Regions from separate parts of the Homo sapiens genome. Here regions 2, 3 and 4 are each linked to region 1. Evidence: promoter capture Hi-C in 16 types of primary human blood cells and fetal thymus (Javierre and others, 2016). All regions are on one chromosome and are shown on one strand. The core of a region is centred on a gene start or on the middle of the fragment in contact, and the rest is flanking DNA. Distances in the headings are between cores, read along the strand shown.

Region 1 (6,222 bases), core at 1,457-3,956:
AGAAGGGCACTGGCAATTTGGGGTTGTCTGCCACCTACAGTGCTTGTCAGTCACCCTCACTCGGTGCCAGGCCACAAGGCTGTTGGTCACAAACCACCCCAGCCAGCCACTGGGCGTCAGGACCCTCGGGAAGAGCGGGAGAGGGCACTGGGATGCACCACGGTCAGAACGACAATCACAGCCCGAACCCCTGCGCTGCACTCCTCTGTCCTCCCCACCTCTCTCCTGACAACACAGATACAATCCATTCACCACCAAGCAACCTCAAGATTGGCTGAAATACCTTCCTCGGCTCCTTTCCTCCATCGGGAAAGTGGGGAGCTGCCGCTGCCGCAGCCCTCTCCTTCCCTGCAGATCTGCGGGGCGGGCTGGGGCGGGATCTCAGAGCTCACGGAAAGGAGGCAGAATCCGGTTTACAGGCTTGCTCCGCCCCTCCCCCACCCCCCTCCAATAAGCAAAGTTAGAGGGTGTTACAAGCTGCAAGACACACACCTTGGAGCTCACCCAGTCCAATCTCTGATCTGCTTTCACGATGCGACAAGGGCCAAAGCTGCAGCACGCATCTCGGCAGGGCAGCAGGCCACTCCCCCCACGAGGCCCGGGAGGTGGCCCTGGGCAGCCTCCCCACTCCCCGCCCTGTGAACACCTGGGCCAAAAAAACACACCTTTAAATACCCAGTGTGTATTTCAAACACATTTCAAACGATTTGCTTCTTTCCTTTACAGCCACTGCCACAAAAACAATTAGCCTGAACGGGTGTGAAATCCTTGATGTGTAAGACGACCTAGTTCCCCAGCCTCTCTCTAGAAACACATGAGTTCTTTACTGCGCCTGAGTCTCCTCCACCCGGAACCTGCAGGGCTGCCTCTTCTCATCAAGTGGCTTCTGCAAAACCTCTCCCAAGCATTTAAATAATCTCTGCTCGTTCTTTTAACAATAATTCAAACCTAGCAGAAAAGTGAGGACACTATACATTTCTTTTAAGGACAGTGTGTGTTACCTGCTCTGATCCCCATGTGTTACACTCCCTAACCTGTACACCAATACTCCAGCTTTTTGTTTTCTTATTTTTTCCTAAAGCCAGCACAAAATAACAGAAGGATAAGATTCCTACCACATTCTACCTGTCTGCCAATGACACAGGAAGGATGAGACCGTCTGGGGAATGGAAGCGCAGGGCGCTCTCAGTAATGCTGGGCAGATGCAGTGGCTTTTCCCCAGCAGAAATGGGCTTCGATTCAGAATCTACCAGCCCACAAGAATCATCTGACCCCACAACAATTAGTTCAATCACTCATCTGGTAAACCCTCCTCGCTCCGGGTCATAGACTGGAAAAGACAGCCCCCAAAACAGTAATAAAAACGACAAGCCCTGTTTTGCTGGAGTCAGCTGAGGTATCAGATGGGGGTCAGTGGCTAGGTCTGTGAACCTGAAGCCACACTCCATCAGTGACCCGCACTGGAGAGACACAAACACCTCAGGCTCCTTAGGAGGTCAAGCGGCCCTTCCCAGCCCTCCCTAGCCCCCGCCTTCTAGAATCATTCTGAATAGCTAACCAGGAGGCTGGGCCCCGTGTGGATCCGCCTCCGCTGGAAAAGCCGCTGCTGGAAGTGCTCCAATCCAGAGCAGGATACCTGGGGGAGGAACGGGTTAAGCGCAAAGGGGAAAGGGGCAGCGGGTGCTGAGACGCAGAAGGTGCGGGGACTTCTACAGAGCAGGGAATCTGGGCCCGGATGAACTGATGCCCTGGCCTCTTTCCTCCAGGGACAAGGTCGGTCTCAGGAAATCAAGGTATCTTCAAAGGGACACAAGGGAGCGCAGTGCCGATGAGACCGGGGCAGAGCCACAGTCTGGCGGTGCAGGCTGGGGGTCCGAGGCGGGGGACACTGGCTAGCAGTGCTGCCAGGGTCGTGTGTGCACTGGGCAGAGGGAAAGGAGGGGAAGAAGGGAAGGGGAAGAAGGGGAAGAAGGGAGTGTGTTCGGTTGGGAGGACCGGTCCAGACAGAGGGGAGAGGGGGCCACTTCGCGAGTGGTGTATCGCTGGTTGAATTCTCATAAGTTAGAGATAGCAGGCAGGGGTTAGAAGGACAAGACAGGGTCAGGACCAGGAGTTAGAGGCGCCAGGCTCCTCTCTGGGTAGAGAAACCGAGGAACTGGGGGCGGGGAGGACTGATGGGTGCGAAAGCGGGCCGGGTCCAAATGAAGGCGCGCGCCCCGGGGTGGGGGCCGGGGTGGGGGGAATGAGGGAGGCTGCAGGGCTGGGGACCAGGGCAGGTGCAATCCGGAAAGAGGAGGCGGGAAGGAATTGGGGGGCCCTGAGGAGCCAGCGCAAGCCGGGTGGGGGCACGTCCCCTCCCCCGGAGAAGGTGCGGGGCTGGGGCTGCGGCGCGGACCCGACCTGGAGGCCGAGGCTGTGCGGGAGGTGGGGGTGGGGAGGCTGCAGGTGCCCGGCGCCCAGGTGCGAGGTGCAGGGGGCGGCGGGGCAGGCGGCTGCGGGCGGCAGGCCACTCACCTGTCTCCTCCGGCCGGGGCCGCGGGGGCGGCGGGGCGGCCGGGCCGGGCCGGGCAGGGGCTACGGGGGCGCGGAGCCCCGGGCGCACCGGGGTCGGGAGGCGGCTGCGGGTCCGGGCGGGGGCTGCTCCCTCGGCCGGCCGGCCGGGCGGTCAGTCAGCGACGCGGGCGCGGAGAGAGCGCTGCGAGGCTGCGGCCGGCGCGCGGAGACAACGCCGCTTTATCGGGTCGGAAACAGCCGCTCCGCGCCGCTTCCGCTGACGCAGCGCCGGCCCCTGCGCCTCATGACTATGCAGCACCCGCCGCCGCGGGACGGGGATTCGGGGGGCGGGGTCTGCGCCGCGCGCGCTCATTGGCCTCCGCTGCCGCCCACCCCGCCCCCGAACGGCCGCCCCGCCCCCGCCGCGCCCCTGCCCCGCCCCCGCGCGCACCGTGGCTCCCGCCCCCGTCTCGCCATGGCCCCGCCCCCAGCCATAATCCAGCCCCGCCCCCGCCCTCCTCCCGCTACGCCCCCGGCCCCGGCCCCGGCCCCGGCCCCTCCGCACCGAGCGTCCGCCCTCTCTCCCCTAAAGCGCTGGCCCGCAATCCACCCCATCCCTCTCTGCAGCCGCAGGAGGTGGCCCCCGCCTGTCCCCACCTTCTCTCCCCGCTCCTCTCGCCACTCTGTCGCAGAGGGGTCCGGCTAGCCACGAGGCCCCGGCCCCCGGCAGCCCAGCCCCTTGGCAAGCACCCTCCCGCCCCCTCCGCCCCTGCCCGTGGCGCGGCGACATGGGCCCCATCCAGGTGCTGCAGCCCCTCCTCCGCTGCAGGAGAAAACTCTCCTGTTTTCCCCTCCCTGCCACCCTCCGAAGACCTCCTACCTGGTCCCGGACCACGCCCCCGTCCCCAACTCCCCCAACGCCCCGCGCTCTGCGGGTCCCCTCTCCAACCTGGAGAGCGGGGCAGGACGAAGACCCGACCCGGAGCTTCCTGGAGGCTGGGCCTCCCTCTCAGGCTTGGCCCTGGCCAGGGACACTGATCCGTCTCTCCCCACGTGTAGAAGGGCCACAATCCCTAGGGCAGGACTGCTGGGAAACCCCATCAAGACAAGGTCTGGGGAGGCGGCTTTAACAGACAGATGTGATGGGCTGAGGCCAACCCTGTTAACGTCGCAGCCCTGCACCCTTGCCAGGGTTTAAGTTGCTTTGGAGGAATTACTTCATTTCTCAGAACCTTGGCGTCCTCATCTGTAAAATAGAAATCGTAAGATCCATCTCACCTGTTGCTAAAGGAATTTAGAAGTGAAGTGCAGAGCAGAGCCTCCAAGAGCATCGGAAATGGGAAAATCTGACCATATCAAGTGTTGACAAGGAAATGGAGCAACTGGAACTGCCAGACACTGTTGGTGGACATGCAAAGTGGTACAACTTTCAAAATCTTTTTGAAAGGCCTTGATTACCCAGCAATTCTGCTCCTAGATACACACCTAACATTGTGTTTCTGTTGATAGCAGCAGTGTTTATAATTGCCCCAAACTGGAAACTACTGAAATGCTCATCAGCCGTTAAATGGATACATAAATTGTGATATATTCACACAGTGGAATGACAGCAATGACAGTGAATAATCAACTACACACAACAACATGGATGACTCTCACAAATGATGTTGAGGAAAAGAAGCCAGAGGATAAAAAGCCATATTTGTTTCCATGTGGATAAAGTGGTAGAAGGTGTATATGGGGGTAGCAGTCAGGATAGTGGTTACCCTTGGAGGGAGGGGTGCCAGAGCCAGGAAGCAGGGCACAGAGGACGTGTCTGGGGGCTGGCTGTGTTCTGTGTCTTGGTCTGAGTGCTGGTTACAGTGTGCTCAGTTTATGATGACTTTTCCAGCTGTGCAGTCAAGATGCATGTGCCTGTGGGGCACGGTGATTCACGCCTGTAATTCTAACACTTTGGAAGGCCAAAGCGGGTGGATTGCTTGAGCCCAGGAGTTTGAGACCAGCCTGAGCAACATGGTAAGACCCTATCTCTATTAAAAAAAAAAAAAGACGTGTGTGTTTTTCCATGTGTATGCAGTATCTCAACAGAGGGTTAGTAAGTACATCAATGGTCTGTAGACAGTCCAAAGCAGCATCAGACACATCATGAGTGCTCAAACTGTACATCTGCTTCCCTGGTGATTTTTCTTTCAATGGCCAAAGGATAGAGGCAGCGGCAATTCCAGGTGTGCTGTGAGCCAACTGTGTGAGCCTGGGCGCCTACTTAACCTCCCTGAGTCCTCTTCTATAAGTGAGCATTCTAATAGTACCTAGTTCACAAGTTGTCCTGAAGCTTAAACAAAATAGCAAAATGATGCTTTTTAAAATGACAATACAATCAAGAGGACAGAACAGGTAAAGACTTTGTTTATTCACAAATTGCTGGTATTGATTGAATTGTCTTCATTGTCATTCATGCAGTAACCAACTACTGAGTGTGTGCCTACTATGTGCCACACGCTTTGCTGGGTCCTAGTACTGGAGCTGGGAACATGATCCCATCTCTCTTCTTAAGGAGTGCATTGTGGGGTATGTACCAGCCATGGTAGCCATGGAGCCCAGTCTAGGATCAGCCTTGTAGTAGGTGCTCCATAAGTATTTCTTGGGGCTGGGCATGGTGGTGGCTCATGCCTGTAATCCCAGCACCTTGGGAGGCCGAGGTGGGTGGATTGCTTGAGCTCAAGAGTTCTAGACCAGCCTGGGTAACATGGCGAAACCCCATCTCTATTAAAAATACAAAAATTAGCTGATTGGGGCAGTGTGCATCTGTGGGCCCAGCTACTTGGGAGGCTGAGGCGGGAGAATCACTTGAACCTGGCAGGCAGAGGTTGCAGTAAGCTGAGATCGCACCACTGCGCTCCAGCCTGGGCAATAGAATGAGACCCCATCTCAAAAAAAAAAAAAAAAAAGCCTCTAAAAGAGTAACTGAATGCAAGTATAGAAGTATAGGCACCAGCCTAGCAACATAGCTAGGCCCCATCTCTACAAAGAATTCAAAAATTAGCTGGGTGTGGTGGCACATGCCTGTAATCTCAGCCCTCAGAAGGCTGAGGCAGGAGGATCACTTGAGCCTGGGAGTTCAAAGCTACAGTGAGCTATGATTGCACCACTGTGCTCCAGCCTGGATGACAGAGCAAGACCCTGTCTCAAAAAAAAAAAAAAAGAATGTAAGTGTAGGCATGAAGTTTCTTGTGAATGAAACTTAGAAGGCAGTTTCTAAGCCTGAGATGTGGAAACCCAACTAATTTACTTCTATAACCTGGAGTTAAACACAGAGACCAGAGTAAAGTTAAGAAAAAATATATCCCCATTGTGCAAGCACCTCAACAAGTGTGTGTGCATGCGTGTGTGCATATGTGTGTGTGCATACGTGTGTGCATGTGTGTGCATGTTTGCATGTGCGTGTGTGCATGTGTGTGTGTGTGCGTGTGCATGTGTGCGTGTGCATGCCTATGCAAGAGGGCAGTGGCAGGGCCACCCTGCAGCACTCCTTCCCAGCCTACCCGGCCAGGGCCTTATATTACCTGCCACCACCAAGAAGGGTGATATGTGTCAGTGGCCTGTGGCCCCATTGTCCAGCTGCCCATGGAAGCCGGGGAATGGAATCCTCAGGGCCCCCACACATCTTTGCCCCACTCCACCCCCTCCTTAAATGGCTGGCTCCCCAGTCCTGTGAGGAGAGAGCTTGAT
Region 2 (6,222 bases), core at 2,127-4,626, 840 kb before region 1:
CGCTTGAGTCCAGCCAGGTCGAGGCTGCAGTAAACCATGATCACTCTAGCCTGGGAGAGACAGCAAGACCCTGTCTCAAAAAAAAAGTGGTTTTTTTTATTTTTTTTAAATGAATAAATAAACAAAAGAGCGTATGGGCTTAACAGAGAATACAGAAAAGATACATTTAAAAGGCCACTGCTAATGGAGGTCTGAGTGCAGAAACTAGGCTCCAAGCTTACCTCATAAGATCCAAGCAAGGGAGCTATTTTTAGTGCTGAAGTCCAGAAAGGATACCCTACTTGGCTGGGGTCACACAAATGGCTGGTGCTATTTAGGGATTCAAATCCAGGGCTGTCAGACCCCACAGACTCTACTTTTTGCATAGGTCTTTTCTTATTCTGTCTGTAAGTGGATAAGGCAAGCAACTTGGAAAGCAAGATTGAAAGCTGGCAAAAGGAAACATTGCTTATTTGCAATGTACACACTTCAATCAATTTATGTTGCTGTCTCAGCAAATCTGTGGGGGAAGGAGAGCGGGGACTATTATTCTGCTTTTTTTTAAATTTATTTATTTACTTTTTTGAGACAGAGTCTCACTCTGTCACCCAGGCTGGAGTATAGTGGCACGATCTCAGCTCACTGCAACCTCCACCTCCCGGGTTCACGCGATTCTCCTGCCTCAGCCTCCTGAGTAGCTGAGATTACAGGTGCGCGCCACCACACTCGGCTAATTTTTGTATTTTTAGTAGAGACGGGGTTTCACCGTGTTGGTCAGGCTGGTCTCGAACTCCTGACCTCATGATCCTCCCACCTCGGCCTCCCAAAGTGCTGGTATTATTACTCTGCATTTTTACCAATGAGAAAACGGAGGCTCAGAGAGTGTAAGAGCCTGCCACAGCCCAGCCCACAATGATCAAATGAGAACATCCAAAGCAGTCCCCGTACTGTCTAGGTCCTGGGGCTGTGCTCCTTTAGCATCTTTAACATTTCCTAAGCATCTCCTCTGAAGGGTGACAATTCAAACATACAAAACCTGCCCTCAAGGAATTTACAGACATCTAAGGTTGGAAGGAATTTCTAAAATAACCAGGTCCAACCTCATACTCACACTCTCTCCCCTCTACAAAAGTCCTAACAGGCAGAATGCTTTGATGATGTGGCTATTTGTCTTAGTTGGTTTGGGCAGATATAAGAAATTACTAGAACAACACTGAGATCAGGGCGCCAGCATGGGTAGGGTGTGATGAAGGTCATCTTCTGAATGGCAGATGGCTGGCTTCTTGTATTTTCACATGACAGATAGAGAGCAAACTAGCTGTCTGGTCTCTTTTTTTTTTTTTTTTTTAAGATAGAGTCTCACTCTTGTTGCCCAGGCTGGAGTGCAGTGGCGCAATCTCAGCTCACCACAACCTCCACCTCCTGGGTTCAAGCGATTCTCCTGCCTCAGCCTCCTGAGTACTTGGGATTACAGGCATGCACCTCCACACCCAGCTAATTTTTTGTATTTTTTAGTAGAGACAGGGTTTCTCCATGTTGGTCAGGCTGCTCTCAAACTCCCGACCTCAGGTGATTCGCCTGCCTCAGCCTCCCGAAGTGCTGGGATTACAGGCATGAGCCACCGCACCCGGCCTAATTTTGTATTTTAAGTAGAGGCACAGTTTCACCATGTTGGCCAGGCTGGTCTCGAACTCCTGACCTCAGGTGATCCACCTGCCTCAGCCTCCCAAAGTGCTGGGATTACAGGCATGAGCCACCGTGTCCAGCCTGGTCTCTTCTTAGAAGCGCACTAATCCCATTCATGGGGGTTCTGCCCTTATGACCTAATTACCTCCCAAAGGCCCCACATCCATATATGATCATATTGGGGAATAAATTTAAACATATGAATTTGGGAAGAACATGAACATTCAGTTCATAACAAGCTCTACAAGAAAATTATCCAGTAAACTCAGCCAGAATATGCTTCCCTGAAACATCCAGTCAAGGGGTCTCAAGAAATAGGACCAAGCTGGCCTCGGTATCTCATGTCTGTAATCCCAGCATTTTGAGAGGCCAAGGAGGGAGGATTGTTTGATCCCAGGAGCTAGAGATGAGCCCAAGCAACATAGCTAGACCCCATCTCCACACAAAATTTAAAAAATAGCCGGCACGATTGTGCACACCTGTAGTCCCAGCTACTTGGGATGCTGAGGTGAGAGGATTGCTTGAGCTCAGAAAGTCAAGGCTATAGTCAGCTCGATCGTGCCACTGCACTCCAGCCTGGGAGACAGAGCAAAGAGTGAAACTCTGTCTAAATATATATACACACACACATACACACACACACATATAATATATATATAATCTATATATGGGACTAATGCCCCACAAGGCTTGCTGAGGTTGACAATTATCACAGCTGTGAGTTAAAAGTACAGGCTGGGACAGGTACGGTGGCTCATACCTGTAATCCCAGCACTTTGGGAGGCCGAGGCAGGTGGATCACGAGGTCAGGAGTTTGACACCACCCTGGCCAACATGGCAAAACCCCGTCTCTACTAAAAATAATAATAATAATACAAAAATTAGCCGGGCGTGGTGGTGGGCGCCTGTAATCCCAGCTACTCGGGAGGCTGAGGCAGGAGAATCACTTGAACCTGGGAGGCAGAGGCTACAGTGAGCAGAGATCGTGCCACTGCACTCCAGCCTGGGCAACAAGAGCAAGACTCCGTCTCAAAAAAAAAAAAAAAAAGTGCAGGCTAGACTCCAGCCTGGGCAACAGTGTGAGACCCTATCTCAAAAAAAAAAAAAAAAAGTTTAGGACAGAGTCCCTGCTCCATCACTCCCTAATTACTTGCCTTCCATATTTTCAGTTATTATATAAGGATAATCATTTCATAGGGCTATCATTAGGATTAAAGAAAGTGTGAGAAGGCAATTTGAGACAGAATGGACAAATTCTGTCACATGCTACTTGTACAGCCTCAGGGTAAGGTGACCATATAGCTTTACTTTCCTGGTACAATTCCAGCTTATGTCCTGGCTAACGGTGTTCCGGTTGGGTGATCCAATCACTCCACTTTGCACAAAAGCCAGCACCTCTCAAGGGTTTTGATCCCCCACCAGTACCATAAAGAGTTTCTTCTCCTTCCCGTGTTATAGGACTCCATAGTGTCATGTCTCACCTGGGCTTTCTAGCTCACAGGCTATGGAGGGAAAAAATAACTATACTTATTTAGCACAACTAAGAACCAGCTACTTGGTTAGACCTTCATAACTCTTCCTTCAAAATAACACGATGGTAACTACCATTTACAAAACTTTTTTTTATCTTTTTTTTTTTTTTTTGAGACAGGGTCTTGCTCTGTGGCCCAGGCTGAAGCGCAGTGGTGCGATCTTGGCTCACTGTGGATCCTCTTCCTCCTGGGCTCAAGCCAACGTCCCACTTCAGCCTCCCATCATGCCCGGCTAATTTTTGTAAATTTTTTTGTAGAGGCAGGGTTTCCCTACGTTGCCCAGGCTAGTCTGGAACTCCTGAGCCCAAGTGATCCGCCCGTCTCGGCCTCCCAAAGTGCTGGGATTACAGGCGTGAGCCACCGTGCCCGGCCTCATTTATGAAACTCTTATCTGGCAGGCAATGTGCAATGTGCTTGGCATAAATATCTCATATCCTCACAATAATCGTGTAAGGAAGAAACTCGGACTCAACCTCAAGATAAGCACCAAAGCTCATTTTAAACCTCACTGCCCTCTGCAAGATAACTATACAGATGCTCCTCGATTTATGATGGGTTGCTTCCCGATAAGCCCATCGCAAAGTTGAAAAATCCCCTAAGTCGAGCCACCCTAAGTTGGGGACGCCTGCATCATGCTTTCAGAGGTGAATGTAAAGTGGGTGAAGCGGCTCAGTGATTGAGCGCTAGCCAGGATTCCACGCCAGGCCTTTCCGTGTTCAACAGCTGCTTTCAGAAGTGTGGAAGCCTCGGAGAGGGTCCCTGAGGTAAGATGGGCTGAGCGTCGCCGCCTTCTGCAAGGACACCAGCCTTGAGAGAAGAGAGGAGATAAGGTGCAAACGAAGAAAGGCAGGGACGCCGCGGTTTCAGTCGAAGCGTGGGCTCCTTAAGGACAGGGGCTGTGTCCGACTCGGCTCTGAATCCCCAGCGCCTACACAAGCTCTGACACAGCGTATACTCAGTAAACATGGAGTGAATCAGTTCATTCAATGAATGAACGAATGAATGAAACGCCAGAGCCCGCCACAGGGGTCCGCTGCCGCTCCACGCCCGGGCCTCTCACCGGCCAATCAACACTGTGACTCGTACGCCCTGCCCCCTGATGCCACGCCCATCACTCGCCCCTCTGGATTCCCTCCGGCTGCGTGGAAATCCCGGAGCACTGGATTTCCCAGAGGCGCCTCCGGTAGCAGTGCGCATGCTCCAGCGCCGGTAGCTGAGGCATCAATTTCCCGCAGCGCCTAGGGGACGGATTGGAAAGCGATTGGCTTAGGGGACGGAAGCCAAGCTCCACCTGCCTGACACCCGGCTCTTCACGCAGAACCGAAGATTCATTTTGGACAGCCCTTCCCCAGTACCACTCCCACCCCGACGTTGGTCCCAATCGGAACCTATCCTACACAAGGCTGAAAAAAAGAGGGGAGCGACCGGAAGTGACGCACGAGCGCGAGCGGAAAAACAGGGGCCCAGCGCCTGTTGCCGTGGAAACCGAGCCCTCGGCTTGCGTCCCGGGTGCGTCACAGCTCCGGCTGACCACGCCCCGCGCGCGGCCCCGAGGCCCTGAGGCCCAGGGCGGGGACCAAAAGCCGCGCGCTTGTGACGATGTCGCTGCGGGGCACGCTAAGGGGCGGAGAGGAAATTTAGGGCCTGCCTTTTGTACATTCGGTTATTCAGCCCAGAAATATGTATTCAACCCCAGGCGCGTGCCTGGCATTGTGGAAGGCGACACGTGAGGAGAATTGTGACTGGCCCAGATGTCACCCCCCCCCAGCCCAGTAGTCATTCTTCTCTGGAAGTCCTTACCCATCTCACCTGTTCATTCTTCAACCCCCAGTTTCCCGACCTTTTTCCTCAAGCCACGCCCTTCCACGCTTTCTTGTCTTTTCTGTGGTGTTCCTTCAGTCTAGAATATTCTCCACCTAGTACAATCCTGCTCCTCCCCTGACATTCTGCTGAAATTGCACTCTTCAGCCTTCCCAGGTAGCTGTGGGCTGTGACATGTGTCAGAGACTGATGAGTTTTCTTTTTACTTTTCTATATTGTCTCATTTTTTTTCTTTAAGCATACATACATTGATTTTATAATGAAACATAAATCATTTTTAAAGAGATCAGTTATTCTCAAAGAGCTTGTTACTTTCGGGAACACTTTTTGGGGTGTTTATATTTATATGTATTACTATATATGTACTTTATATGTATACTTTTAAATTCACAAAATTGACACGCATTGTAATAAGAATCGTGATTATATCCTTTATCCATAATCACCAATTTTTACATTTTTGCCTCATTTTCACATTCTTCCTCTCTCTCTCTGTGCCAATTATGTCCTTTATAGCTATTTCCCCTCTGTCCAGAATCATACTGTTTCAATTAGTTGTCAAATCTTTTTTTAGTATCCTTTTATCTAGAACAGGGTCTCAGTCTTTCTTCCTCTTTCATGTCTTTGTGAAACTTGCAGCTACCAGGATGAGACAACTCTACTCAGACCCAAGCACACCAAGCCAGGAATGCACAAAGGACGGCTGATGTTTGAGATAAGAACTGTCTCAAGGACTTTCTATAATAACCACACAAGGAATTCCTCATGTACGTCACAAGTCTCATGCGTTTCTCCACCTACGTTTTGCACATGTGCACACATTTATTGATTTAGAGGCAGGGATCTTGCTGTGCTGCCCAGACCGGACTCAAATTCCTGGGCTCAATCGGTCCTCCTGCCTCAGCCTCTAGAGTAGCTGGGACTCCAGGCATGCGCCACCCTGTTATTTCTGTGACCAGGCTTAGCACTAGGCATTCTTTCGGACGACAGCAATTCAAATAAGATGCTCTCCAAAGAACACTTGCCTAGTAGCGGCATCTCCAAAAATAAATTGATGCCGCTCCGGCTTTGAGCCTCCAGAACCAAAGAAACCTGTTTCCAGACAGCTTATGTGAACTTCTACTTTTGGCCAATAAGAGCTCCCACTTACCCCTGCCCTATTCAGGTGCACCTGTGGCTTGCCATAGCCATATAGCCAGGTGCA
Region 3 (6,222 bases), core at 2,414-4,913, 730 kb before region 1:
CTTCCCTCCTCAAACACACATGACCACGTATTTGGCAGTTAATTTTCTTTCTTTGTAAAACTGTGATAAAATACAGATAACATAAAATTGACCATTTCAACTAAGTGTTCAGTTCAGCGGCATTGAGTGTGTCCATGCTGTTGTGCGACCATCACCACCCTCTGTCCACAAATGATTTTCACTTCCCCAAAGTGAAACTGTACCTGTGAGGCACTAACTTCCCAGCCAGCCCACGGAGCCACCTGGGGACCCTGCTCGCGGAGTCCCTGAATCTGGTCCTTCGTTTCGAGCCGGCGCAGGCACTGGAAAGTGAGCAAGCGTCCCTGCTTCTGCAGAGCCAGCTCTGCTGGCCACCCAGGTCTCAGGCTTGCCCTTGACCTCCCAAAAAAGATGACAGCCCAGGAGTTCATTTGCATGCATTCCGTCCACCAGTGGGGCCCCAGCCTCTAAGAGAGTGACCCATGTTGAAACGAAGGAAAAGGAGAACCACGGCCAAGCTGTTAGTGCTCGTTCTGCCAAGTTCTTAGTGGGGACAGCTCCCTCTTCAGTCGCCACCCAGGGAAAGGGCAGCGCCAAGCAGCACCCCGCACGGGGCCGGGGCCGCCTTGCAGAAGCCGGAGCGTGTTGCTAATGCCGAGAAGCAAGTGTCTGCCCCGTTTGCCTGTTTGCCCTTTTGTCATAATTCTGAGAGGTTCCCTCTTTTACAAATGTCATCCTTTCATTAATTTCTAATTACACAGCTTTTGCCTTAATACATTCTCACCAAAAGTTTCACATAACGATAAAGCTAAAAGTCCCAGCCTGGGCAACACAGAGAGACCCCATCTCTACAACGTATTTAAAAATTAGTGGAGTGTGGTGGTGCGCGCCTGTGGTCCCAGCTACTTGGGAGGCTGAGGTGGAAGGATTGCTTGACCTCGGGAGGTTGAGGTTGCAGTGAGCCATCACTGCGTCACTGCACTCCAGCCTGGGTAACAGAGGGAGACACTGTTTCAAAAAGAAAAAAAAAAACAAAAAGCTAAAAGTCTGTTTACAGTACCCACTCATTTCAATCCCCATTCTAAGAAGTAACCTTATCCTTTTCAAACCTATGCTTTCACATAAACACACAGCTATCCAGAAATACATTGTTTTATTATTTTTATACACATGGTATCAAACCCACACTTCTGAGGCGCCCATTTTCCTACTCTGTGTCTTTGGGATCTTTCCTCCTAACTGTATACAATGTCGCCACTAGGTCTAGAACTACAGACACGGTAATCATGTGCCTTAGTGTTACCACCTAACCACTTGCTACTTAGTTGCCTGTGTTTCTGAGCTTGGAGGTCAGCCTGGGAGCCCCATTCCACTCCTGCTAAGCACCACACTGCATGCCCCAGCGCACTCCTCTAACCCACCACTTCCTACTGATACTTAGATGGTGTCTTTTGTTGTTCTTTTTTTTTTTTCAGAGTAGTCATCCTATACATCTCCTTGAGATATAGAGACTGAGAAGGAGAACGGGTGGGTCAGAGGGTACACGATGTTTCTGCTTTAATACCTGCAATACCCGCACCAGACTGTCTTGTAAACAGGCAGGGTCCACCTGCATTCCCGTGAGTGGCTCATGCCCAGAGTCACAGAGCTCTAGGCGCAAGGCTGAGTGTGACACAGCCATGCTGCCTGGCCCCCTGCTCCACAGGCACAGGGCCATCGCATCTGCTGGTTCTTCTGGGGCCACTTGACGGAGCTCAAGACGAACAAGGAGGAAGAGGGGCAGGGGAAGGGAGAGGAGCCCACCTCCTCCTCGCAGCCCACCCGTGCTTCTCGGAACAGAGCATGGGGGCAAGGCCCACGTGACTTCAGCAAGGCTTAGGTCGTGTGGGCCTTGCCCCCATTCTTTCTCGGGGCTGGCTCAAGACTGGCTGTGTTGTGCAGCCACCTTGGTGCCCACAGCTGTACGGGACGCTCCTGGGAGGAAGGGTCTTGCTTGCACCAAACCCCACCCCGGCAGCCCCGGGAAAGGGGTGGACTATACTGCAGGGCCTGAGGGCACTGAGGCTGCTTCACTGTGTAGTTGTCAGAATGTCACAGAGGTAACTGAGGTGCAAGGGCATTTTTCTCATGGCCTTGGATAAAGCCTCTGTGTTGGACTCATTAAACATCTACCCGGGGCATTGTACAAGGTTTTGGGAACTCACGACTAAGACGCCATCCTTGCTCTCACAGAGGCTGCAGTGTGGTAAGAGAAATGGGAAGGAGATGCTGAGCAGCACGACGGAGGAGCCCAGACTCATGATGGGCTCAGGGCCCCACCTTCGTCTCCCTTTCCACTCGGAGCTCCCCTCCAGCGGCGCTGACCATGAGCACCATCCACCTCCCCACTGGGGACAGGAGCCATGTCTGCCTCAGCCACCACTGCACCCCCAGGGCACTGCAACTGATGTGTGAGCGGGGGGTCTCAGGAAGGTGGGTCATGGGAGGAGGCAGGAGGTAGGCCAGGGCTCCCACACAGGTCTTGTGAGCACAAACATTTTACTTCTGACATTTTCCTATGCTGTTTTGATTGATTATAATTTTGAGATAGGGCCTAAAGGTTCCTCCGTCTAGGCAGCCACTCTCAAGCTTGCTCATAGCCTAGCAGGTTGGCCTTGGCCCTGTGCATGCAGCTCTTGCCCTGCATTTGCTGCTTACCAACTGCGTGACCTGAGCCTGGCAGGCGAAACCACAGGAGTGTAGTAGCACAGTCCTGGAAAGACATCACGTTCTCATCACCCTCAGCTTCTTTCTGGTGTCAGATAACGAAGCCTTGGCCATGCCTAGTTTCGTAAAAGAAAGCTGCTTGTGTACTGTGGTCGATGGCCTAAGGGCCCCCCTGCTACCGCACCAGTCAACAGCCCAGAAAATGTGGGCCAGGCACAGTGGCTCACACCTGTAATCCCAGCACTTTGGGAGGCCAAGGTGAGCAGACTGCTTGAGGCCAGGAGTTTGAGACCAGCCTGGGCAACATGGTGAAACCCTGTCTCTACTAAACAGGCTCACGCCTGTAATTCTAGCACTTTGAGAGGCCAAGGCAGGCAGATCACAAGACGCCAGGAGTTTGAGACCAGCCTGAGCAACATGGTGAAACCCAGTCTCTACTAAAAATGCAAAATTAGCCGGGTGTGGTGGCGCATGCCTGCAATCCCAGCTACTCCGGACGGGTAGCTGAGGCACGAGAATCGCTTGAACCCAGGAGGTGAAGGTTGCAGTGAGCCCAGATCATGCCACTGCACTCCAACCTGGGCAACAGAGCAAGATCCTGTCTCTAAAAAAAAAAAGGAAATGTGTATACTGCTTTATGCTCTCATTCTGGTTCTAGGAGTACCCCCTAAATCACAGATTCACACAGGGTTCTATCCCAGGGAAACGCAAAAACAAACCAGCAGTCCCACTGATGGAGAGCCACACAGCAGTGAGATATACTAAAAGATCTAGGAAGACCTTTAGTAAAGAAAGCTGCTTAACCCAGTGGTGCACATAGTTTTTGTTCAGAAATACATGGTTTTAGTAAGTGCATATTTAAAGAACCTCATAGAACTCTCAACATACTCTGGACATGTTGAGTGAATCCAACTGTTTAGTTTTACAGATATGAGAACTAAGTCCCCAGACATTCTCTCTCTTAGCATATTCAGAGTTCTGCAACCATCACCATGGCTTAGAACATTTTTACCACCCCCAAAATCAACACTATACTCAACAGCAGTCACTCCCCACCATTCCAGGAAAAGAAAAATTTACACAACCATTTATAATAGCATCCAAGAACATAGCATACTTTAGATTCATAGTGACCACAATAAAAAATTCAAAGGGGCTTTCTAGCAGAAATTGATAAGTTATTTATATTTATTATTCTATATACTTGGAAAAGCAATAGATCTAGAATAGCTAAAACAATTGTAAAGAACAACAAATTTGGAGGAATTATTTAATCGGATTTCAAGCCTTACCACTTAACTATAGTTAAAATGACCAAGAGTTCCTGGCCTAAAGACAACACAGAAGAGAATCCAGAAATAGATCCACCCACATATACAGGTTGAGCACCCCTAATCTGAAAACCCCAAATCCAAAATGCTCCAAAATCTGAAACTTTATGAGCACCAACATGACGCTCAAAGGAAATGCTCATTGGAGCATTTTGGGTGTCAGGTTTTCAGATCTGCAATGCTCAACTGGTAAGCGTAACGGAAATATTCCAAAATTCAAATAAATAAATAAATAAATGAAAACTTGAAACACTTCTAGTCCTAAGCATTTTCAGTAAGGGATACTCAACCTGTACAATCAAATTATTTTTTTTAAAGGTCAACAGGTAAATCAGTGGGGAAAGAAAAGTATTTTCAACAGACCCTTACCTCACAACATACATAAAAATTAATTCAAGATGGATCGTGGACTAAATATGCAAGCAAAAACTATAATTCTAAAATAAAAACAGGAGAATATCTTTATGATCCCTAGGTAGGCAAAAATTTCCTAGAGAGAATACACTATGTAACAGCTATTTTTAAAAATTTATAAATTGGACTTCAACAAAACTAAAAAGTTCTACTCATTAAAAGAAAGACACCAACAGGAAGGTGAGATGACAAACTTTGGACTAGGAGAAAATATTCCCAGTATAGACTTGTATGATGCTGATTTTTAGGTGCCAATGTGTCTAGATTAAAGAATAATCCAGAGAACTGGTAAAGCTTGACTTCTGGGCATGTCTGTGTGGCTGCTTCCAGAGGAGACTGCGTGTTAGTCAGGGACCAGGTGGGGATCTGCCCCCAGTGTGGGTAGTGCCATCCAATCAGCTGGGGACACAGACAGAAAAAAAGGAGAGAAAGAGTGATTTCTTCTCTCCCTCCTGGGGCTGGGGCACTGTCTTCCTCCTGCCTCGGACATCAGAACTTCAGGCTCCCTTGGCCTTTGGGCTCTAGGACTTATAGCAGCAGCCCTGTGGGTTCCAGGTCTTTGGCTTCCCTGATTATAAGGCTTTCAGACTTGGCCTGAGCCCCGCTACTGACACTCCAGGGTCTCCAGCTTGTAAATGGCCTGCTGTGGGACATCTTAGCCTCTACAATCATGTGAGCCAATTCCCCTAATAAATCCCCTCTCATATCTATAGATATATGTACAGTCATGCGTGGCTTAACCATGGGGATATGGCCTGAGAAATTCACTCAGGCAATTTCATTGCAGTGTGAACATCATAGAGTATATTTACATATACCCAGGAGGTAGAGTCTACCACACACCTAGGCCACAAACCTGTACAGCACACGACTGCTGAACACGGCAGGCAATTGTAACACCATGGTAAGGATGTGTACATCTACATATACCTAGGTCGGGCCCAGTGGCTCATGCCTGTAATCCCAGCACTCTGAGAGGCTGAAGCAGGCAGATCACTTGAGGTCAGGAGTTCAAGAGTAGCCTGGCCAATATGGTGAAATCCTGTCTCTACTAAAAATACAAAAAATTAGCCAGGTGTGGTGGCAGGTGCCTGTAATCCCAGCTACTTGGGAGGATGAGGCAGGAGAATCACTTGAACCCAGGAGGTGGAGACTACAGTGAACTGAGTTCATGCCACTGGACTCCAGGGTGACAGAGCAAGACTCCATCTCAAAAGAAAAAATAAAAAAATCTAAACTCAGAAAGGGTAGCGCATTGCTCTACTACGTTACGTGGGCTATGATTTCAGCTCCCTTACAATCTTTTGGGACCACGGTGGTATATGTGTCTGTCACTGGCCAAACGTTGTCATGCGGTACATGACTGTATCTCTATCCTATTGGTTCTGTCGCTCCGGAGGATGCTTACAAATGCAATGTACATCTAGAATATACTAAAAACTCTCACGGATCAATAACAAAAAGACAAGAAACTCAGTAAAAAAAAAAAAAAAAACAAAACAGGCAAAATACTTCAACACTTTGCTGGAAATAATATATCACTTAATCGATGAAAATAATATATAAACACATGGAAAGATGCTCAGCTCATCAGGTACCAGAGAAATGAAAATTAACCACAATGAGAAACCACTACTCACCCACCGAAACACACAAAAAAACACGCCTGACCACACCGCGTGCTGGTGGGGGTGGGTGGCCTTGGAAACACTCAGCGGAGCTGACGGGAGGAAAACGTGATGGGAGCATGGGAACACCATTTATTTGGCAGGTTCACATGCAGCTAAACACA
Region 4 (6,222 bases), core at 1,280-3,779, 530 kb before region 1:
TGGGAACGTTCTCATGTATGGATCAGAGAGTGATGGGACCTAAACCCATTGATTAGTCTTAACATCACAAAGAACAACCAGATGTACATCACCTAAGAAGTATTCTTGTTGTGGGGAGGGGGGGAATCAAGCCCAAACTGGATCAAACTTCTTTAGGTTCTAACAAGCAGCTGATGGGAAATAAACGGGCCAGAAAAGAATAGGTTAAACAAGACAGCATCACAGAGATGTAATCAGCCTAATCCAGAATATGAGAATAGGACAAGGGACACAATTTCTTCAACAGAGTAATTGCAACTAGTAACAATCAACCAACAAGGTCTAGCTGACACATACAGGAGATACTCAAGCAAATTCACAAAGTACTTCTTGTCTGATTCTTGTTTAGACGAAACCACATATGAAAATGGGACAATCAGGGATATTTGAACACTGACTGGATAGCTGATAATGTTTTGTAAAAAAAGTCTCATCTTTTAGGAATAGTTACAGGTGAAATATGCCTTCGATTTGCTTTAGAATAACCAATAGGGATTATGTGTGTATGTAAGTGGACAGAGGCAGAGGTGAAATAAAATTGGCCAGAAGTTTTTAGTTGCTGAATCTGGGTGATGATGATACGAAAAATCATGATACAATTCTATTCTCTCTTTTCTGTATATGCTTGAAATTTTCCATAAAAAGTTTTAAAAACTCAAAATTCAAAAGCATAGTAGGTACTTAATATTTATTCATTTCCATGGTCTCCTCTTTGTAAAGGCATCAAAAATATTTTGTCTTGACTCATGCAGTTTGATTTTAATCCACAATTATTGTATAGCTATAAGCTACAAACGGGGTGGGGGAAGACTTGAGGTCAAACTCTAGAATTTATATTTTAAACTTTCAAGCATTCCCTTTAAAATTATTTTCTGCAAAGAAAAAAATAACTGGGCCTTTTGATGTTAGCAATATTTATTTTATATTTGGTAAGATGATGATACTTGGGCTTTTTGTGTTTTAATAATATATTTTTTTAAAAAGATTGAGAAGTTTATTAATTATTGTTAATAAGTTTCGCCAGAGGATCAAGATGGTTCATAAGCCAAGTATACCCAATACTGCCAACTGTGAAGCATTTATTTTATAAAGACAAAAATACATTTTTGTTTCTAATACTCTCATATAGTCTTTTCCCCTTTATAGCGTGGGGGCTGCTTGGGAGAAGATGGGAATACTCTCTTCTGGAAACAAAATTTATAAGACTGAGCTGGATTTCTGTGGGCTGGGAAGAGTTTATAAAAACAAAAATCCACTTTAAATTTTTGTTGTACTCATTATTGCTCAGCTTTTCATTTGGCCTTTTTAAAAATTTGAAAGTGCCTCAGGCTACCCCTTGCCAGGGAGGTCTGTGAGTTTCTGTCTGCACTGTCTGCACTGCCTGCAGCTGAGACGAGTTCAGCTCAAGGGTGAAGGAGTGGTTCCGGGTCCTTTTTCAGGATACTTCTTTACAACATACGATGCTGATATTTCAAAACCTATATGACCTCCAAGTATTCTTTTCAACTGCTTTAGAACCCAGAGAAGAAACGGTATGACTACGAAGAACACCCCGATCTCAACAGTGGCAAAGGGAGTTCGAATGATGTAATGGTGGGAGAGGGAGGGCTATCGGAAAGAAGGCAGCACAGCTGGGCTATTTTGATTGTTCACTTCCTTATTCATGCACAACACGATCAGCCAGTCTATCCATATGAAGTCAGTGACAACTGTACGCTTCTCAGTGGTTTGGAGTCTCTCCTAATACCAGACTGACTACCAGAATAATTTCCAGTGAGCCAGGTACTAGGAACAGATCAATAACATTCAATACCTACTACTTTGTGCACATAAAAATTATTAGTAGCATTAATTTGATTAAATTATGTCACAAAGCATATAATTTACAAAAATGAATTTATCTTTTAAAATTTGGTTGTTTTTTTTTTTGGGGGGGGGGACAGGGTCCTCTCTTTGTCACCCAGAATGGAGTACAGTGGGGTGATCTCAGCTCACTGCAACCTCCAAATCCCAGGGTCAAGAGATCCTCCTACCTCAGCCTTCTGAGTAGCTGGGACTATGGGCACACGCCTCCACGCCTGGCTACAGTTTTTGTAGAGACAGGGTTTCACCATGTTGCCCAGGCTGGTCTCAAACTCTTGGGCTCAAGTAATCTGCCTGCCTTGGCCTTCCAAAGTGCTAGGACTACAGGCGTGAGGCACTGTGCCTGGCCTAAATTTAGTTTTACTTTTTAATTTTTTCAGTGTCCCGTAGATTTGGTAGGGAAAAAAATGAACTACTTATATAATAGGTGACAATGCTCTCAAATTAGGGCAAGGTTTTTTTTTTTCTTTTCTTTCCCCTTTTAATTCCTAAAAGCTAGCATTTAAATCAAGCTTTCAGCAACAGATAGAGACTACCTTGGAAACCCACAGCATTATCAAAATTGAAACTAGAGTGTAAAACTAGACAGAAGAACCTTTTTCAAACTTGAATACAGGGCACACTTCTGAGAGTTGGAACTGAGTCAGCACTATCCTATTCCTAATAAATGAGGGGAAAAAACCTTAATGGAATCACACGCAAACTCTTTCAAAGTATTATTTCCTTCCACACATTTATATTATCAAGCTTTAGAAATGAGTCAACATAGGCTAGGTGCAGTGGCTCACACCTGTAATCCCAGCACTTTCGGAGGCAGAGGCAGGCAGGTCGCTTGAGCCCAGGAGTTTGAGACCAGCCTGGGCAACATAGGGAGACCCCGTCTCTACAAAAAAAATACAAAAATTTGCTGGGCATGGTGGCGCACACCTGTAGTCCCAGCTACTTGGGAAGCTAAGGCAGGAGGATCACTTGAGCCCAGGAGGTTGAGCTGCAGTGAGCTGAGATCAAGCCACTGCAATCCAGCCTGGGTGACAGAGGGAGACCATGTCTCCAGAAAAAAGAAAGAAATGAGTCAATATGGTCTAATGTAAAGAGAACAAACCTTCTAGTCCAAGATCAAGATTTCCATCAGGCTATTACTTACTAGCTATGTGAACTTGGCCAAACCACTTCAGCTCCGAGTGTCTTTATTTCTTTATGTGTAAAGTGAAAATATTACGAAGACTCTCATGAGGTTTAAACAAAATGATGCCTGTGGATGGGCCAGGCATGATCTCTAAGACACATGCATATGTAAATAACTACCTGTATTTATAAGTGGCATAGTCATGAATAGGTAACAAATCTAGTGTATCAGAGACCACACAGAAAGAGATAAAATGCAGTAATTATTATAGACTATACCACCTTATATTTTATAGAACTTTACAGTTTACAAACCACCTTTGCATATACAAGTGAGCTGTTTTAGAATTTGTAATGAAGCAGCTTAATACAAAATACAAATAACATTTATTTCATTAAATGTTTTAATAGTTCAGAATAATTTCCAGTCACTAACCTGAAAAACCTAAAAGTAATCTTGAATAAAGGAAATTATGTTGCATGATAAACAACTGAACCAAAATAATGTTAGAAAATTAAAAATTTATTTAAATTGCAACAAATACTGAAAAAGTATCACAAAGGGCCAGGCGTGGTGGCTCACGACTAATTTTAATTCCAGCACTTTGGAAGGCCGAGGTGGGTGGATCACCTGAGGTCAAGACTTCGAGATCAGCCTGGCCAACGTTGTGAAACCCCATCTCTACTAAAAATACAAAAACTAGCTAGGCGTGGTGGTGCACAACTGTAGTCCCACCTACTCGGGAGGCAGAGGCAGAGGCAGGAGGCTTGAACCTGGGAGGCGGAGGTTGCAGTGAGCCAAGATCACACCACTGCATTCCAGCCTGGGTGACAAAGTGGGGGGAAAAAAACTATCACAAAGTAGTATAATTGCCCTTTAGCATGAAGGGCTTAGAGACAATCAAACCAAGCATTTGAAAAAGATCACTGCATTGGTGTACATGACAGAGATACAAATGAGAAAACTTGTATTATCTCTAGTGCCACATGTGTAGTCCAAACATGTAACAAGAGCCATGTGCATAATGCAATGGTATTACTATCATGTGTTATCTTGTACTTCTGGTCATAATTAAGGTTTTACTGCTTGATCAAGGGCTTCGTTATTTTAGAAAAGAAAAAGAAAAAAAAACCCAAACACAATAATCCACCAAACAAAACCCCCAAGTTTATACCTTCAAAATATTTAAAATACAGCTTTACTCATTGATTTGGAAATACCTGATTTCTAGGGTAATTTTAACCCACACAACCATTGGTTAAGCACTCCCTCCCCACAGAGGCCACACCTCCTCTTTCAGCATACTTACAGGTCCCTTATGATAGACTGCAGCACCTGACTTTCAGATATGTTCCAAGTTGTACCCGAGCTCCACAACAAGCACAAGTTTCCTTATAACTTAATAATTAGGCTTAAAAAAAAGACTTCTACAGGTTCTCAGAACAATACAGGCAGGGACACATGTTGTTCTGTTAGATATTTTTATAAATCTCTGTTAATCTTACACTTATTTTTGTAGAGAAATACTGTGTGAATTTCAAAGATACACTGTTCATATATTCAACATCAACTGTCACTGCAATCTTACTGAAGGTGATCCAATAACTACCTTTATTTTGCAACAAAATATGAAAAAGTACCTGGTATCTTCTCTCCGGAATGTAAGGATATTGCTTTATTTGCCAACAAGAGAGACCCACAAAGAGCGACAAACTGTCCTAAAGTTATCTAGATCCTCGCTTTTTCTGTTGGTTATCCTCTCTACCCCTGCCCAACATCTCCTAGGAAGGAATCTAGAACCATTTATAATGATTCCTAGGAAAAAATCAAGAACAATTTACAGTGACAAGCTTACAGGTAATCCCTTGAGAGCCCCAGTGACACTGGTCGGTCCAAATATTCCTGCCTTTCTGCTGTCGGTTCCCGCTACCCAGAATGCATTCCTCTAAGACCCAGCACACCTCCATACCTTACTCAGGAATTCATGGATTTATTTAAAAACAATTACAAAACTTATATCCCAGACAATAAAGAGATAAACAGAACATGTCTTTACATGCAATGGGTTCATGGTTTTGTGGACAAGATGGTTTCTAAAACACAATGACATTTATTTTAGGACTATGCATAAGAGAGAAATGTACAGTGCACTATAGAGCTCTGAGGAGGAAGAGTCCAGATCTTCTTAAAGTACTCAGGAAAGCTTTCTATGAGGTACTGACATATGAACCCAGACTTGGGTCAGGTAAGAACTCTTTGGTTGTGAAGAAAAATGGGAGAGCCAGACAAATCCCATGAAGACTCTCCATCTTCATTGACACTTGGGAGTGTAACAGTTCATCAGTACAGGGGAGCAAACTCTCTCAAATTGCTCATGACAGGCAATAGAGCCTAGAGGGTAATAATGACCTGAGTTCCGATCCTAGTGCCATCATTTTCAAGCTGTGTGACACTGAATAAGTTTGTTTACCTTTCTGAATTTAATTCTTCATATCTGTGAAATGGAGAGATAATAAATACCTTGCAAGGCCACTGTGGGATTAAATAATATTTAACAATTATGAAGGGCTTTACAATCCCACACGAGTTAATACATGTGCAGGTTTACTGTCATACAGAAACACAATTTTAAATAACTTTCCTGTTGCTCTCAATTCATCTGCTTTATTTTAATTCACTATCTATGGTTTGACTCTTTCACCAAGAATGTAAACTCTATAAAGGGAGGGACGTGGCTTTGTTTTCTAGCAGACTCCAGTATCTAGAATAGTGCTCAGCACGCTGCAGGCACTCAAGAACTATCTGTTGGCCGGATTAATGTAAAACAGAAATGTAAAACTGAGGTCTCTTCAATCCCGCAGGGCTTGTTAGGGGTTAAATGAAGTATCGTATGACAGAAAAACAAGTAATTGCAGCTGGCATACAGTTGACTGCAGCCTCACCCCACTATCCTAGACACTGAACACGCTTACTGTGGAGAAGCACATGCAGAATTTCACAAGGATCCAGGAGCAGTAGGGCCTCTACCTTGGTGTGTCAGCACTACATCCCACATAGTACGGTGTTTCCAGGTTGGCAGGTAAGAAATAACCCTGGGATTTAGTAAGATTACCGTTTTTCTAGGTATCGGCTTAACAAAGATGTCCCTAGAAATGTGAATTACCAGCTCTGGGGCTAAGTGCAATGTACTGGTT

Evidence for each region. Contacts are between HindIII fragments. The CHiCAGO score rates a contact against its expected background, and 5 or more counts as called.
Region 2: a fragment that was not itself captured here is called in contact with the fragment with the promoter of SLC45A4 in region 1 in 1 of 17 cell types (neutrophils); the score reaches 5.2 in neutrophils.
Region 3: a fragment that was not itself captured here is called in contact with the fragment with the promoter of SLC45A4 in region 1 in 1 of 17 cell types (neutrophils); the score reaches 5.9 in neutrophils.
Region 4: a contact is called between a fragment that was not itself captured here and the fragment with the promoter of SLC45A4 in region 1, in 2 of 17 cell types (total B cells and naive B cells). The highest score is 5.7, in total B cells.

Annotation. Positions count from the first base shown.
Region 1 is chr8:141,305,582-141,311,803 of GRCh38, forward strand. SLC45A4 (solute carrier family 45 member 4) reads right to left here and starts at 2,707. Exons shown (of 9, transcript NM_001286646.2): 1 at 2,515-2,707. RefSeq lists silencers at 2,583-2,682, 2,703-2,942. The HindIII fragment of the contact is 5,295 bases long and covers 1-4,823 here.
Region 2 is chr8:140,460,128-140,466,349 of GRCh38, forward strand. LOC105375782 (a long non-coding RNA gene) reads left to right here and starts at 4,744. Exons shown (of 2, transcript XR_928707.3): 1 at 4,744-4,923; 2 at 5,658-6,222. RefSeq lists an enhancer at 3,972-5,171 and a silencer at 5,668-5,767. The HindIII fragment of the contact is 6,324 bases long and covers 215-6,222 here.
Region 3 is chr8:140,578,229-140,584,450 of GRCh38, forward strand. The region is part of intron 2 of AGO2 (argonaute RISC catalytic component 2); the gene reads right to left. Among named protein-coding and RNA genes, the nearest start is that of ERICD, 53 kb to the right of the region's middle. RefSeq lists an enhancer at 1,411-1,510. The HindIII fragment of the contact is 2,117 bases long and covers 2,606-4,722 here.
Region 4 is chr8:140,780,287-140,786,508 of GRCh38, forward strand. The region is part of intron 14 of PTK2 (protein tyrosine kinase 2); the gene reads right to left. Among named protein-coding and RNA genes, the nearest start is that of MIR151A, 51 kb to the left of the region's middle. The HindIII fragment of the contact is 235 bases long and covers 2,413-2,647 here.